5 separate regions of the Homo sapiens genome follow, and regions 1, 3, 4 and 5 are each linked to region 2. Evidence: promoter capture Hi-C in 16 types of primary human blood cells and fetal thymus (Javierre and others, 2016). All regions are on one chromosome and are shown on one strand. The core of a region is centred on a gene start or on the middle of the fragment in contact, and the rest is flanking DNA. Distances in the headings are between cores, read along the strand shown.

What was found. The method cuts DNA at HindIII sites, captures the fragments that hold promoters and counts their contacts. A CHiCAGO score of 5 or more calls a contact.
Region 1: a fragment that was not itself captured here is called in contact with the fragment with the promoter of ZZZ3 in region 2 in 1 of 17 cell types (naive B cells); the score reaches 5.2 in naive B cells.
Region 3: a contact is called between a fragment that was not itself captured here and the fragment with the promoter of ZZZ3 in region 2, in 1 of 17 cell types (total B cells). The highest score is 5.6, in total B cells.
Region 4: a contact is called between a fragment that was not itself captured here and the fragment with the promoter of ZZZ3 in region 2, in 1 of 17 cell types (total B cells). The highest score is 6.0, in total B cells.
Region 5: the fragment with the promoter of HS2ST1 here is called in contact with the fragment with the promoter of ZZZ3 in region 2 in 5 of 17 cell types (naive CD8 T cells, non-activated CD4 T cells, naive CD4 T cells and 2 more); the score reaches 11.5 in naive CD8 T cells.

What each region holds. Positions count from the first base shown.
Region 1 is chr1:71,056,932-71,059,631 of GRCh38, reverse strand. All of the region lies in intron 2 of ZRANB2-AS1 (ZRANB2 antisense RNA 1), which reads right to left. Among named protein-coding and RNA genes, the nearest start is that of MIR186, 9.4 kb to the left of the region's middle. The HindIII fragment of the contact is 731 bases long and covers 1,013-1,743 here.
Region 2 is chr1:77,681,364-77,684,063 of GRCh38, reverse strand. It overlaps ZZZ3 (zinc finger ZZ-type containing 3), which reads left to right and starts at 1,406. Exons shown (of 15, transcript NM_015534.6): 1 at 1,406-1,479. RefSeq lists enhancers at 151-250, 1-453, 1,271-1,350 and silencers at 401-460, 471-890. The HindIII fragment of the contact is 10,120 bases long and covers 1-2,700 here.
Region 3 is chr1:70,408,019-70,410,718 of GRCh38, reverse strand. No RefSeq gene overlaps it. Among named protein-coding and RNA genes, the nearest start is that of CTH, 1.9 kb to the left of the region's middle. The HindIII fragment of the contact is 1,557 bases long and covers 650-2,206 here.
Region 4 is chr1:70,246,711-70,249,410 of GRCh38, reverse strand. It overlaps SRSF11 (serine and arginine rich splicing factor 11), which reads right to left. Exons shown (of 12, transcript NM_001350605.2): 9 at 2,504-2,593. Among named protein-coding and RNA genes, the nearest start is that of SRSF11, 27 kb to the right of the region's middle. The HindIII fragment of the contact is 1,771 bases long and covers 426-2,196 here.
Region 5 is chr1:86,913,185-86,915,884 of GRCh38, reverse strand. HS2ST1 (heparan sulfate 2-O-sulfotransferase 1) reads right to left here and starts at 1,250. Exons shown (of 7, transcript NM_012262.4): 1 at 725-1,250. The coding sequence starts at 848. It overlaps SELENOF (selenoprotein F), which reads left to right and starts at 1,759. Exons shown (of 5, transcript NM_004261.5): 1 at 1,759-1,857. The coding sequence starts at 1,774. RefSeq lists enhancers at 1,510-1,629, 1,680-1,839, 1,233-1,847, 1,950-1,999, 1,848-2,462. The HindIII fragment of the contact is 1,083 bases long and covers 549-1,631 here.

The sequences.
Region 1 (2,700 bases), core at 129-2,628, 6.6 Mb after region 2:
TTTTTTCTTTTTGTCACGATGAGTCTTGCGGTGTTGCACAGGCTGGTCTCGAATTCCTGGACTCAAGCAGTCTTCCTGTCTTGGCCTCCCAAAGTGCTAGGATTATAGGTGTGAGCCACTACGCCTGGCCTGTATCTCCCTTCACATGTCAGACAGCCAATTTTACTGTATTTAAATTCTTCCTAAATCCTCTATTCACCAAACCTGTATCTCATGTTGTATTTCATATTGATAAACATCATTATCAGTACTTGATAATCCTCTTAGATTTCCTTTTTGTGAACACTACCACTGCTTTGATTTGTGGGCTAGGATATTGTAGTTTCTTCCTAAATGGTCATTTGGCATTTAGTAGGATTTCAGTAATATTTGCTAAATGAATTTTTTTCACCAAGCATTGATCACTTCATCACTGATGCTAGAATGCTCTTAACTAACGAGCATTTCATTTCATGTTATTTCTTTGTTTAAACCCTTTCAGTGCCTTTTCATGGCTTTCAGAATTCAACTACAATCCTTATGCATATAGTAAAAAGTTCAGGGGTTTTTTCCAGGACTCACACTACCCCCACCTCCCAATTCTAACCTACTTAGGTGCACAGAACCTATACACTAGCTACGTTAACTATGCTGAACTACTAATAGGCTTTCATCTTAGTACAAGTTTCTTATACCTGGGATACCCTACACATACCCCACTACCATTTCTTTTTTCATTTAGCTTTCATGACTCAATTCAGAACACTAGGATGCCATCCCTGATGCCTCTTCCCTTTCAATGGGAATTGGGTGAAACTCCTAAAAGTTTCTCCTTCCCCAGTATCCCTCTCCCTTAGCATAGTGTTTGTCATTATAGCAAGCACTCAAATGTTTGATGAGGGTCAATATCTGTTACCTTTCTCAAAGAGGTTTTGATCAGTTGTATTTTTTCCTCATTACTGATAGAATAAATGTTCTTCGCTGGAAAGCATTCTTTGATTGTGAAAGGAGTTTTTATTCTGAAATTAAAGCTTTGTAAGACCATTGTAGGAGAAACTTTTCTTTTTTCTTTTTAAATATTTATTTTAGAGACAGGTCTCACTATGTTGGCCAGGCTGGTCTTAAACTCCTAACCTTAAGTGATCCTCCTCCAGCCTCCCAAAGTGCGGGGATTATAGGCATGAACCACCATGCCCAGCTTTTTTCTGTTTCTTAAGTCCAAGGAGGCCATTTCTTCATAAGCTGAAAAAACTTTGAAGTTATCTGTCCAGCCATCCTTCAGGAGAGGGTAGAACATGTAAATAAACCTTATTGTCCTCAATTTTCTACTTAAAGTATGCCAACTTATATTTTATTACACACAACTAAGATAGGTTGAGAAAGAGCAGCCTCACTGGCATACATTTTGAAATTAGATTATTTGTATATCACCAAGGACAGAAGCACAAAAAATTACTATGCTGGAAGTAAGACTTGGGGTCAACTATTGGCTTTCTTCCTAACATGCTGTGTGATCCTCTGCAAAAATATTAACCTAAGGGACTTCACTATGGATTGGTAAATTGAGTTCCCTATAAATGTATGATCCTGAAGTAAGTGCATTGGGGTGCATCATTGGCAAAATAAGCAACAAATCAAAAAGTAATTTACCTAACTTGGAGGAGCAGATGATAGAGTTCAAAATGCTTTGTTAGGTTAAAATACTACGAACAGGCATATCATGTACTAGGTAGAACCGAATTTTATAAGTATAGTTAAAAAGCTTTCAAACAAGAAAATATAAAATACATTATTGCTTGATAACTAGACCAGTAGATTTTTACTGATAAATTGTTTGGACATTTATTTTGGCTTATATACATAACACTAACTGTAAATGAGCTATTTCTGTGAAAACACCTAAAAGTCAAAACTAAAATGGAAGTGTTCAGTTTGGATGAAGCAAATCCAGTTAATTATGGTCTATCCTCGTATTAACTCTTAGTGACACTGTTACCTCTAATCTAGCTGTTGACTGTGAACCTGTCAAAAATGTTGCTTTTTCAGCAATTATTTCCATGTATCAAAATTCTGATCAGGGAAAACAAGTTATCTGTATTCTTATAATTTGAATAATGTATTAGAGCCTAAGAATTTTAATGTGGTATCAGCAACTGTGACACAAGATTGTGTTGCCCTATATCACACTCACAATTATGTCTCCTGTTCCTTATTATTGATTCCTTAGAATCACAAAAAGGGAAAGGTTAAGGAGAATGTAGTTAATTCTACCAGAAGAAACTACCTCAGTATTCTCAGGCTGCACCCATAGTACCTGTGGCACTAAAATCTTAGGATAGAAGAGTGCTAAGAAGGAAGAAAGAATAATAAAAATAATGTTTTGTGTTTTTTCCTCATATTAGTGATAATGAAAATGTGTTTAAATTCAGGCCTCCCATAAAGTATTGCGTATCATAAAGTCTAAGGCAGGTACCTGACCGTGAAAAACTACATTTTGAAGCACTGATGACTGATAAGAGAGACACAAAATGTTTAACCTGTAATTTTGGTGAAGCCATTGGAAATTAGCAAACCTACACTATGTTTTCTCTACATTTGGAGACTATTCATCTGTTAATGTAGATGCAAAAGAAAGTCTTATTCAAGGACTCCAAAGACATATTTAACACAATATTAAACATTGAACCTGCATTTTAAGCACCACTGCATTCTGGTATCATT
Region 2 (2,700 bases), core at 157-2,656:
AAAGCAGGTGAAGAGTTAAAGCAATGGTGCAGGTGTACTTTTTTTGGATACAGTGGTCTGGGCAGCCCTCTGAGAAGGGACCTGAAATATGCATCGAACATCGAGGAGTTAAAAAAAATCTGGAGGAAATGTTCTGCCAGAGAAATCGGCAAGCACAAAGGCCCGAAGTGGTTCGAGCCTGCGTGCTGTGGTACAAGCCAGAGGTGAACGAGGCGAGGCAGAAGCACGATCATAAATACATGTATGGATGTTCTCCTGGCTTGAGACCACAGTGCTAAGGGAGGTGGGGTTTACAAATCTCTCAGGAGGCCACAAAGGGCAGGATGAAGCCGATTTCCAATGGCGGAGCTACGAGGACGCCTTTCCTCTGCTAGGGCCAGGTTGGACGGTTGCAAGGGATGGACTGCAACCCGCCCTCGGAAGACCAAACTTCGCCCAGGGGCAGGGACTGGCCGGGGAGGGCCTCGGCGGCGCCCGACCCGCGGGCGCTGCACGGGCCGCGGTTACCAGCAGGCGGTGTAGTGAGCGCGCCTGCAGCAGCAGCAACAGCAGCAGCAGCGGTCGCCGCCGCCGCCGCCGCCCGCCAGTCCCAACGAGGAGAAAGGAGGGGACCGGAAGGAGCCGCTGGTGCTGCGGGAAGTGGCAGGAGCGGGAGGCGGGGACCCACCTGGAAGCGCCGCGGCGCCGCTATCGAGCTTCCTGCAGCGGTGGCCACCCGAGCAAGTGCCGTGGCGGGGGCGGAGAGCGGCCACGGCGGCGGCGCCTCCCCAAGTGGCCCGTTGCGTCCGACCCCGCGTGAAAGGTGAGCAAGAGCTCGGGACACGTGGTGAGGGCCAGACACGGGGGAGGGAGAATGAAGGGGGAGGGAATGGGGGTGGGAAACGATCGGCTTGGGACCCGGATTTGGAGCCAAGTACCGGGAGGGGGTGGGCTGGAGGCGACGACTGCGACGGCTGCGACGGCTGCGACGGCGAAGCCCCCACGTGGGGCGGGGGTGCGCGCGCACGTGTGCGCGGGCGAAAGGGGGGGCGGGGAGGGCTTTTGGGAGGGCGTCGGGAGCGCGCTCGCTCAGTAGCGGCCCACGTGACGGGCACGCCGAAAATGTTTCCACGTGACAGGGAGGCTGCCTGGGGCAGCGCACTGCGCTCTGTTTATGTAGTATAATCGTGGTAATCGGAGGTTTTTAAGATTTCTGCTTTTCTGTACAAGGGGAAAGGAGGAGACGTATAAAGCGGAAAGACTTCCTACTGTCTCAGTGTTTTAAATGTTCACTACTCCGTTAGTGAAGTGCTTTTTAAGTTCCGAAATACTGATTTTTTTCTGTACCGCCATGTTGGGTCTAGTGGAAGCTCGCGAGATGCGAGTGGGTTTGTATCGCGAGATCTCTCGATTCTCGCGGGACCTCGTTGGCAGAGCAGTTGTCCTGGATGGCGGAGCCTTGGGTTCCGGGGGCCTGGGACCTGCAACTCTTTCTACAAGGCAAGTCGTTAGGGAGGGGCCCGGGGCGAGTGCCTCTTGGTGCCGGGATACGTGCTGCATCAGCTTCCCATAGTCTTGAAGGGAATACAGTAACCCCATTGAGGCAACACTGCCCTCCCCATCCCCCTGCGGGCGCTCCACCACCTGCAAAAGCATATGCACCCCTCAGCCAGGTCCTTCTCCCCACGCAGTGATAGTTCCACCCTGTCCCACTCACTGGAAGTCCGGGAGCCGTGCTCGCGCAGACCTGATGATTCCATTGGATACCGTTCCTCTTACTTTAAGATGTTCTTGTCAGTTTTTCCCTTCTTGCCATTTTCTAAAGTATTCCAGACCGGTTAACTATTGTGTCGCGTTTTCTGCTGCAGTACCTGACTCCAGTCTCCTGAAACAGAACTCCTCCCATCTATTTTCTCTGGGTGTCATTTACTCATCACCCTGACTTCGTATTTTCAGTAACTTTTGGCAGTATTTGGAGGGCCCATTATGTCTCTGACAACACCTGTGGTCAGAATAAAATCCTGCTTTTCATCATTTTGTACGTGCCTATTAACTCAGTTATCGGTAGGGTTTTAATTACTACTGTGTTACTGAGGTTGCCATCTTTGAAGTTTAGGGATGGTTGTTTTAGGTTATATATTTAAGGTAACAGACTGTTTCATGTGATTTTTTTTTTTTTTTTTTTGAGACGGAGTCTCGCTCTTGTCGCCTAGGCTGGAGTGTAGTGGGGCGATCTCGGCTCATTGCAACCTCCGCCTCCCGGGTTCAAGCGATTCTCCTGCCTCAGCCTCTCGAGTATCGAGTAGCTGGGATTACAGTCGCGCTTCACCACGCCCGGCTAATTTTTGTGTTTTTAGTAGAGACGGGGTTTCACCATGTTGGCCAGGCTGGTCTCAAACTCCTGACCTCAAGTGATCCACCTGCCTTGGCCTCTCAAAGTGCTGGGATTTCAGCACTGTACAGGCGTGAGCCACCGCGCCCGGCCTCAGGTCAACTTTTTAGTAAAGAGCAAACTCATAAATTTTGGCATCAGAGTTTGAGCTTTATTTTTCTTAAATGAGTTTGAAATCAATTTAATATTTCTCTCCAATTCCCTAATGTCTCAGAAGTGAATTTACAGTATACCTTTGTTTTTTCGTATTCTTAAGTAGTATTTGGATTTTATTTAGTAGTTGCAGTACTAAATAAGGAGTGGGGAGTTAATTACAAAACGAATCAGGT
Region 3 (2,700 bases), core at 179-2,678, 7.3 Mb after region 2:
CTCTGTAATGACCCAGTGCTTACGATGACGAAACGATGACTAGAAGTGAAGGTTAAATTGTTCGTAAGACATAACGAAGCTACTGTAGTGAGGACGTCTATGCACAACTCTGGCAGCTTCCTAAAAGTTAGTCAATCTTGAGCTTTTTCAAGCATCATTATCTTCTTTTAAAGTACAGAGAGAAACTCCCCCTAATGAGAAAGATAATGTGGCTTTGAAATACTTACTGGAGCCTAACATCCTTACACAAAATGCTTTTGCTTTTACACAACAGCAACATCCCTGCAGGAAAAAGGATTGTTTACCACTCACCTGCGCCCAGAGCCCTACTCTCAGAAGAATCACTGCTTTAAAACAAAAATCTCCCTGTTCCCTAAGCAATACAGACTTGACCTACTTACTATTGTGGCTGTTTTCTAGCACCAGGAAATTTGGGGATATTTCTGTTGTTGCAAAATATTCGCTAAAGATCTAAAACTTTATTAAACAAATTAAGAACAAGGAGAATAAGGAATAAACAGCTCTTAAAATTTACAGTTTGAAAGAAAGATATGAAGAGAAAGAATGAGGCAATTTGCTTTTCAAATTAGCTTTAGGGACATTTAACCCATTAAGCACTAGAGGAGTGGTGCTTGAGGGCCTACAAGCTTTTAGAATCCTACCAAACTTTGTATGGCTGGGGGAAAAAATGGATAGACTTCAAAACACTAATGTATATTAATACATATTTAATTAATATTTTTCTTTTAAAAATATAACATCAACTGCAACTCACCTCAATATTTATGTATAACTATAGGTGGGTATTTTTGTGTAATATGATATGGCATTTAGGGGCCAAAAGGGTCTAAAACAGTTCCAATTAGTTTTACCTCCTAATATTTGCTGACAAACCCTGAGTTGCATAAATACAGACATTTTATTTAGTGTACTGTAATAAAGAATCATTCAGAAGACAGCACTAGGCTGGGTGCATTGGCTAACGCCTATTAATCCCAGCACTTTGGGAGGCCGAGGTGGGCGAATCACCTGAAGTCAAGAGTTCGAGACCAGCCTGGCCAGCAGGGTGAAACCCCATCTCTACAAAAAACACAAAACTTAGCTGGGCGTAGTGGTGCACACCTGTAATCCCAGCTCCTTGGGAGCCTGAGACAGGAGAATCGCTTGAACCCAGGAGGCGGAGGTTGCAGTGAGCCGAGATCATGTCACTGCACTACAGCCTGGGCCACAGAGTGAGACTCCATCTCAAAAAAAAAAAAAAAAAAGATAGCACCCAATACAAATGCTATAAATCAGGCCTTTTTTACTCTCTTAAACTGAGAAAACTTTATTGGATGCAGCTTAATATGTATCAAGGATTTAAAATATCCCCTTTCTATGACTCAGCAATTTCTTTTGTAGAAAATTTTACTTGCAGGAATTTATCCTTTAGATATATTCTTAATATGTGTACAGAGATGAGCAAGGATGCTTTTTAAACCTACGTTACTATTTTTAATAGCAAAAGAGTGAAAAATGGCTTAATTATTCATTCTTAAAAGACTGGTTAACTGGTTATGATACTACTCTGTGATGGCTACAGTATGGCCAAGAAGCAGGAAGAGATTGAGATGTGCTGGTATGTCAGAGTCTCGCTCTGTTACCCAGGCTGGAGTGCAGTGGTGCCATTTCGAATCACTGCAACCTCTGCCTCCAGGTTTCAAGAGATTCTTCTGCCTCAGCCTCCCAAGTAGCTGGGACTACAGATGCAGCCACCATGTCTGGCTAATTTTTGTATTTTTAGTAGAGATGGGTTTCACCATGTTGGCCAGGCTGGCCTCGAACTCCTTGCCTCAAGTGATCCACCAGCCTTGGCCTCCCAAAGTGCTGGTATTACAGGCATGAGCCACCACACCTGGCCTATTGATCTCTAATATCTAAGACAGCAAAGCAAAGTAACGTATACATCATGCTTCCACTTTTTCAAAAGAATATATACTATGTTGCATTATTTTCAGACAGATATTTATGATTTCATATGTATAAAAATCCTTCTGGTCATAGAGACTATGGATCTGCAGTGGAAAGGTGATTTTCTTTACATTTTATTCTCTTTTGTGTTCAAGTTTTATATCATGGGCACATATTACCTTTTCAACAATAATAATACTACCAAAAACCCTAATTTAAACATTTTAGAAAGACAACTGTATTTAGAAAAAAAGCTTTTTAAATGATTAAATGATAGCCACTTTAAATCCAATAAATGGTATATAGTTTGAGGTGTGTGCTAATTTTTCATATAAATTATGTTGCATACAACAAAATATCATAACACTTACAGAAGAATTATTAATTCTTCTTGGGAAGGAGATTCAGCAAAAGCAGATATTTTAGAGGAAATGGGAAACTTCTCATTTTTTATATTTCTTTACTGTTTGATCCTTTTATAAAACACAGAGTACATTATTTTATAATAAGTACTTCTTAAACACTATGAAAATAGCACTGTACTTCTTGTGTTTATGCACAAAGACCTCTACTATTCTCATTAAAGGCAGGCTATGAATAAAGATACCGTGACTGAATATCAAAACAGTGCAATCGGGACTTGGGAGGGATGTTCATAAAATATATTATTATTATTATCAAGCATAAACATACGCAATTATTAGATCTGTTTTGTTTTACCTCAAAAGAAAACAATTTGTTCATCCTTGG
Region 4 (2,700 bases), core at 62-2,561, 7.4 Mb after region 2:
CTAAGCTTGAGAAAAAACTGATTTAACAAAACTAATGCGAGAGGGGTGACGTGTGAAGTAAACTATTACTGAAGAAGTTAGTTTTTGGTTCAAACATTCAGTGTTCAGAGTAAGTACAGAATAATTCAATAATGTGATATAGAAGGTAGTTACTAATAAAATATCCCCACATTCACCTTTAAATCATTAGATGAAATTCAGAGAACTAGTTAGTGGAAAGGTAGAAACCTTATACTCTAGCAAAATCGCCCTCCTGCAGTCCCCCAAAACCCTGCTTTCACCAATTACTTTGAAGATATACAGCTGATATACAGCCTTCCCCTCCTTTTTACTGTAACTTAAAAAAAAAAATTCTGTTCCTGATTCTCAAAAGTTATCAGACTTAAAAAACCCTGTACTTAGTTGTCTAATTTCCAAATGAAGCTTTTTTTCTACTTACACAGCCCTCTGTGACCCTTGTCCTGGAAACGTTACACATAACTGAGCATTCACTTATCAAACATTGTCACGACTGTGCACCTTATACTTTTTGCTACTGTCTTATGTAACTGAAACTCCAAATTCTCTAGACGGAAGAAGTATTTTATATTACATTTCCGTGTCCTTCAACAGACTGTAGCACAACTACAAACACAGTGGGTATTTAATAACTCACAGAAGATGCCTTAATTTAGAGTGATCCAATAATACAGCATGAGAAGGCACTTACAAGTACATTATATAAAGCAACAGGTAAAAAAAAAAATCCTCAACAGTTTTTAAGGTAAGAAAATATATGTAGTACCTTCCATCTTTTCTATCTCTTTGCCACCTATCCCTCAGGCCTGATTCAGCATTTCCTTCTGTACTTACATTTGGTTTCATTTTCATGCTTAAAAATTTAGTTTTTAAGAAAATTTTCACCACCCCAAAAACTCCCTACCCTTTAGTTATCACTCTAATCCTCCCTATCTCCCCAGCAATCAGTAATCTACTTGGTATCTTTATAGATTTGCCTATTCTGGGCATTTCATATAAAAGGAATCACGCAATACACGGCCTTTCATGGATGTTTGCAAGTTTCATCCATACTGTAGCATGTATCAACCTTATTTATCACTGAAAAATATTCAATTGTATAGATATACCATTCTGTTTATCCATTTGTTAATGGATAGTTAACTTTTTGGCTATTATGAAATAATGCCACAAACATTCACATAAAAGTTTTTCTGTGAAAATGTTTTCATTTTCCCCCAGGGGTACAACTGGTGGGTCAAAAACCTCTATGTTTAACATTTTTAGGAAATGCCAGACTGTTTTCTAAAACACCTGTACCAGTTTATATTCATACTAGCAATGCACAGGGTTCTAATTTCTCCACATCCTAATCAACACTTACTATCATCTGTCAGGCTCAGCTATCATCTGTCTTTTTGATTTATAACCATCCTAGTGACTGTGACATATCTCACTGTGGTCTGGTTTGTATTTCCTTGGTGACTAATGATGTTGAACAGATTTTATGTACTTACTAGATATTTGCATATCTCCTTTGGAGTAATGGCTACAGATTCTTTGCCATTTTTAAATTGGGTTGCCTGTCTATTGCTGAGTTCTAAGAGTTCTTAATAGAGAATATATAAAGAATTTTCTAACTAGCACTCTAGGTTTTTACTTTCTTGATAGTATCCTTTGAAATACAAATGTTTTAACTTTTGGTGAATTCCAAAATTTTCTTTTCTTCTGTTGCTTATGCTTTTGAAGTCATATCTAGGAAACCACCAAGCTCATGGTCTTAAAGATTCACTTTTGTTTCTTTCTAAAGGTTTTATAGTTTTGGCTCTTACATTTAGGTCTTTTATACATTTCAGTTATTTTTTTTTATATGGCATGAACCTTCTCCTAGTGAATTTAAGTAATGTTGATGAATAAAACAAGCACTGCAGCAAAACATGTGAATGAGATCTGAAAAATGGAATGAAGTCCAGCCCTTACTATCATATAAATCCCAAATTAAGTATGAAAATGTGCTTTTTGTGCAGTAAGGTCTGCAACATTTCAATTTTCACTGACAGCTTAAAGATAGAATTAGTCTAAGAATGACACAAACCAGAACCTGCATTGCTTCCCATTAATTCAACAGTCATTAAAAGGGATAGAAAAATTCTCAAGTACTAACATGCAGATGATAAATATAGCTTACTATAATAAGCTTACTTAATGGAACAATTCAGTATGGTTTAGCCATTAAAACTTAAACTATAAAGAGAAAAACTCACCTCTCTTGAATTCCATGTTACTTCAAATATACTCTAGACCATAAAATATTAAGTAAAAAGAAAAATAAACTACATTATTCTTCACAAATTGCCTTTTAAAAACTTTAAATAACAGCAAAATGTAACTTTTTTCAACACTGAAATACTTATGTTCTGGAAAAGACTTCATACTGACAGCGTACTGATACTGTTAGAAGCAAAGTTAAAAAAATAATTGCCAAGAATTCACAATGCCACCTTACCTGCTTGCACTTCTAGAACGTCTGGCTGTGCTGTAACTTTTTGGTGGTGTTTTAGAACGTTTCTTTTCTTTGTCTTCTTTCTTTTTGTCTCTAACAAATGAACACAATTTATGAATGCATTAGAAGACTCAGCTGATGCCAATTTATATAGCACTACAAACACAAAAATATAATCAGATCTAATCCCATCCTTAAAA
Region 5 (2,700 bases), core at 1-2,500, 9.2 Mb before region 2:
GTGAAGCAACATACATAGGCATCCCTATTCTCAAGCCCCAATTCATCAGTTTAGCGCCACTAAAGAAGAATTTAAATCTCCGGACCCTCATTTCCGTACTCCGATGAAGCTTTGCACTCGCGTTCCCGCACTACCCGGCCAGCCTCCCTCAGCTGGCAATTACAAGGTCCTTTGCTGCCCGGAGCACAAGAGTGCAACTCGCTACAGTGTTCACATGTTGCTCTCCGTCATCCCAGCATCTCCTCCCATTTCTGCGCACCTATCCCTTCATGAGCCCCCAAAAGAATTCGTATCCAGATGCCCATAGCTCAAATTAGAATACCCCTCATCTGACATTGCCAGGGCTTCCTGTACGACTTCCAAGAGAACACGCGATGCTAAGCGCTTCTGTCTCCGGAGACCAGCAACACACGCTCCCCACTGAGTTCGGTCTTCTCTCTCGCTCTCTCTCCGCGGAATGCCTACTTCGGGGCTACCCTTTGGCTAGGGAAGCCCAACCTTGCAACCTCTGCCCCGTGACCTCGCGAGCCCAGCACGCCGCTCAAGCTTAATTCAACCCATTCTTGGAGCTCGTGCTCTCGCTGCCCCTTGTTCCCGGTTCTCTTTGAAACCGCTTTCAGCCCCCGAGCCAGACCCCAGGTTAGATGAACGCCCACTTGCTCCGGCGGCAGCGCCTCCTCGGCCCCTTCCACAGCACTCAGCCCGGGGCAGTTCAGTTCCTCACCTAGCTTCGAGCGGGACTCCTCCAGTTTCTGGATCTGGTTTTCCAAGAAGAGCATCGCCACCGCGAAGGCCACCACCGCCAGCAGCTGCAACTTGGGCGGCATCATAATCCTGAGGAGCCCCATGAAACCCGCTGCTCGGGATCAAGACATACCGCGGGGGGCGGGGAGCGGGACCCCGGAGGCGAGAGAGACGCCGGGAGGAGCCCGCCGAGCCGGGAGCGAGGCAAAGAGAGAGCGACAGCGAGAGAACCACCGCAGCGACCCCCCTTCTCGCCTCTCCAGTCCCCCTCCCCCAGGCGCTATCACCAACGCCGCTGGTGTCCGCTTCTCCTCAGCCGACTAAACGGCCGCCCCCTCCAAAAGCCCGCGCAGCAAACAGCGCGAAGCGGCTGCCGGGCTCTCGCCTCCCTCTACTGCCTCAGTCCCCGACCCCCGCGCCCGCCTGCTTGCCCGCCTCCCTCTCTTCCTTCCTTCCCTCCCTCCTTTGCTCGCGGCCGCGCGCCCCTCCACCGGCGCTGCGGCTGCGCCGCCCTCATCCCCGCCCCCGCCCATCCCCCTCCGCCACCACGCGCACGCATCCGCGTACGCTGCTCGGCAACCAGAAGCCCCGCCCCTCCCCCCGTTCGGGTCCGCTTATTGGACGGAAGAGCCCCTGCGCTTCGCTCTTGGTTCGGTTTACGGTTGGTTTCCTCTGCCACAGAGCTCAATCAAGACGACATTCAATTGGGTAAACTTGGAGAAGAAGGCGGGGCTAAAACTGGCGAAGGCGTGGCTTCTTGGCTGCTTGACGAAGTGTCGTGAATAAAAGAAAGGAGACCGCAGAAGTAAAGAAGTGGGGAGTTTAGGCAAGTGCCTGATTTGGGTAATCGAAAGCACCCAGTGATTGTATTTGATGACTTTTAAGCTTTCATATGCCGTTATTTAATACCTGTCACTTCCAAATGAGAGATGTAAGGGCAACGGCCGTTAGCGTTCTGTTTTGGATCAGGCTCTGGAGTGGACGCCCCTAGCTTAGGGGTCCTTCTAGGCAGCCAGAAACCTGCGGAAAATGGTAGCGATGGCGGCTGGGCCGAGTGGGTGTCTGGTGCCGGCGTTTGGGCTACGGTTGTTGTTGGCGACTGTGCTTCAAGCGGTGAGTGTAGATCACCTTCGCAGCTGCCACAGGGAGAGTAGGAGTGATTGCAGCTGAGAAAGACGCAACATTCGGTCCTGGTTGAAAAGGGTGGGGAGGACTGCGCTTCCTTAATGACTGCTGCGGCCAGAATGCAACGTGGCTTAATTTCTCGGTTGATCCTTCTCCTTCCCCGCCTTGGGTTTCTAGCAGCAGTTTTCTCTTGATTTCAGATTGTCTTGGGTACGTAGCTTCTCTTATACGGCTCTTGCTAAAAACAATCTGTAAACCACACCAGGTGGGAGGGGGGAATAATAAAGCTTGGCAAGAAGTGGAGGTTGTTTTTAAATGGACAGAAATGCAAGAGACTCATGACGAGACTTCCAACTCTTAGAGGCAAGTCTTCAAGTCGTTGGTCCAGGCGAACAGTTTGTGTTTACCTCTCTCGCGCGCGTGCTCTCTCATTTTCACTACTTCTGTTAGTCTCTTAACTTCCGTTCTCCTCTGCTATTCATATACGGCTGGCTGCGCTTGAGTGCGATTTGTGCTTTTAAACAATGTTGTTGGAGTAAAAGGAGTTATCTATACCAAAGTATAATTCATTTTTGAAGTTAGTTTTTTAAATGATGTTCGTTGTCTTCTTTAAGGCAGCGTTTTTTATTTCATTTTTCTCTATTGGCAGAATAGATGGGTGACCTTTGAATGGGAAAAGTGTACTTTTAACTTATTTCTTCTCATATCCATGTTCTGCTGTGTGAATAGTAAAATTTTAGGCACAGTGCTGAAAGCTTTTACGTTTTTTTATCCTAGCTTAATTCTTCGGGTAGTCTCTAATAAGGAGACCTGGTTTAATTTACTTATCCA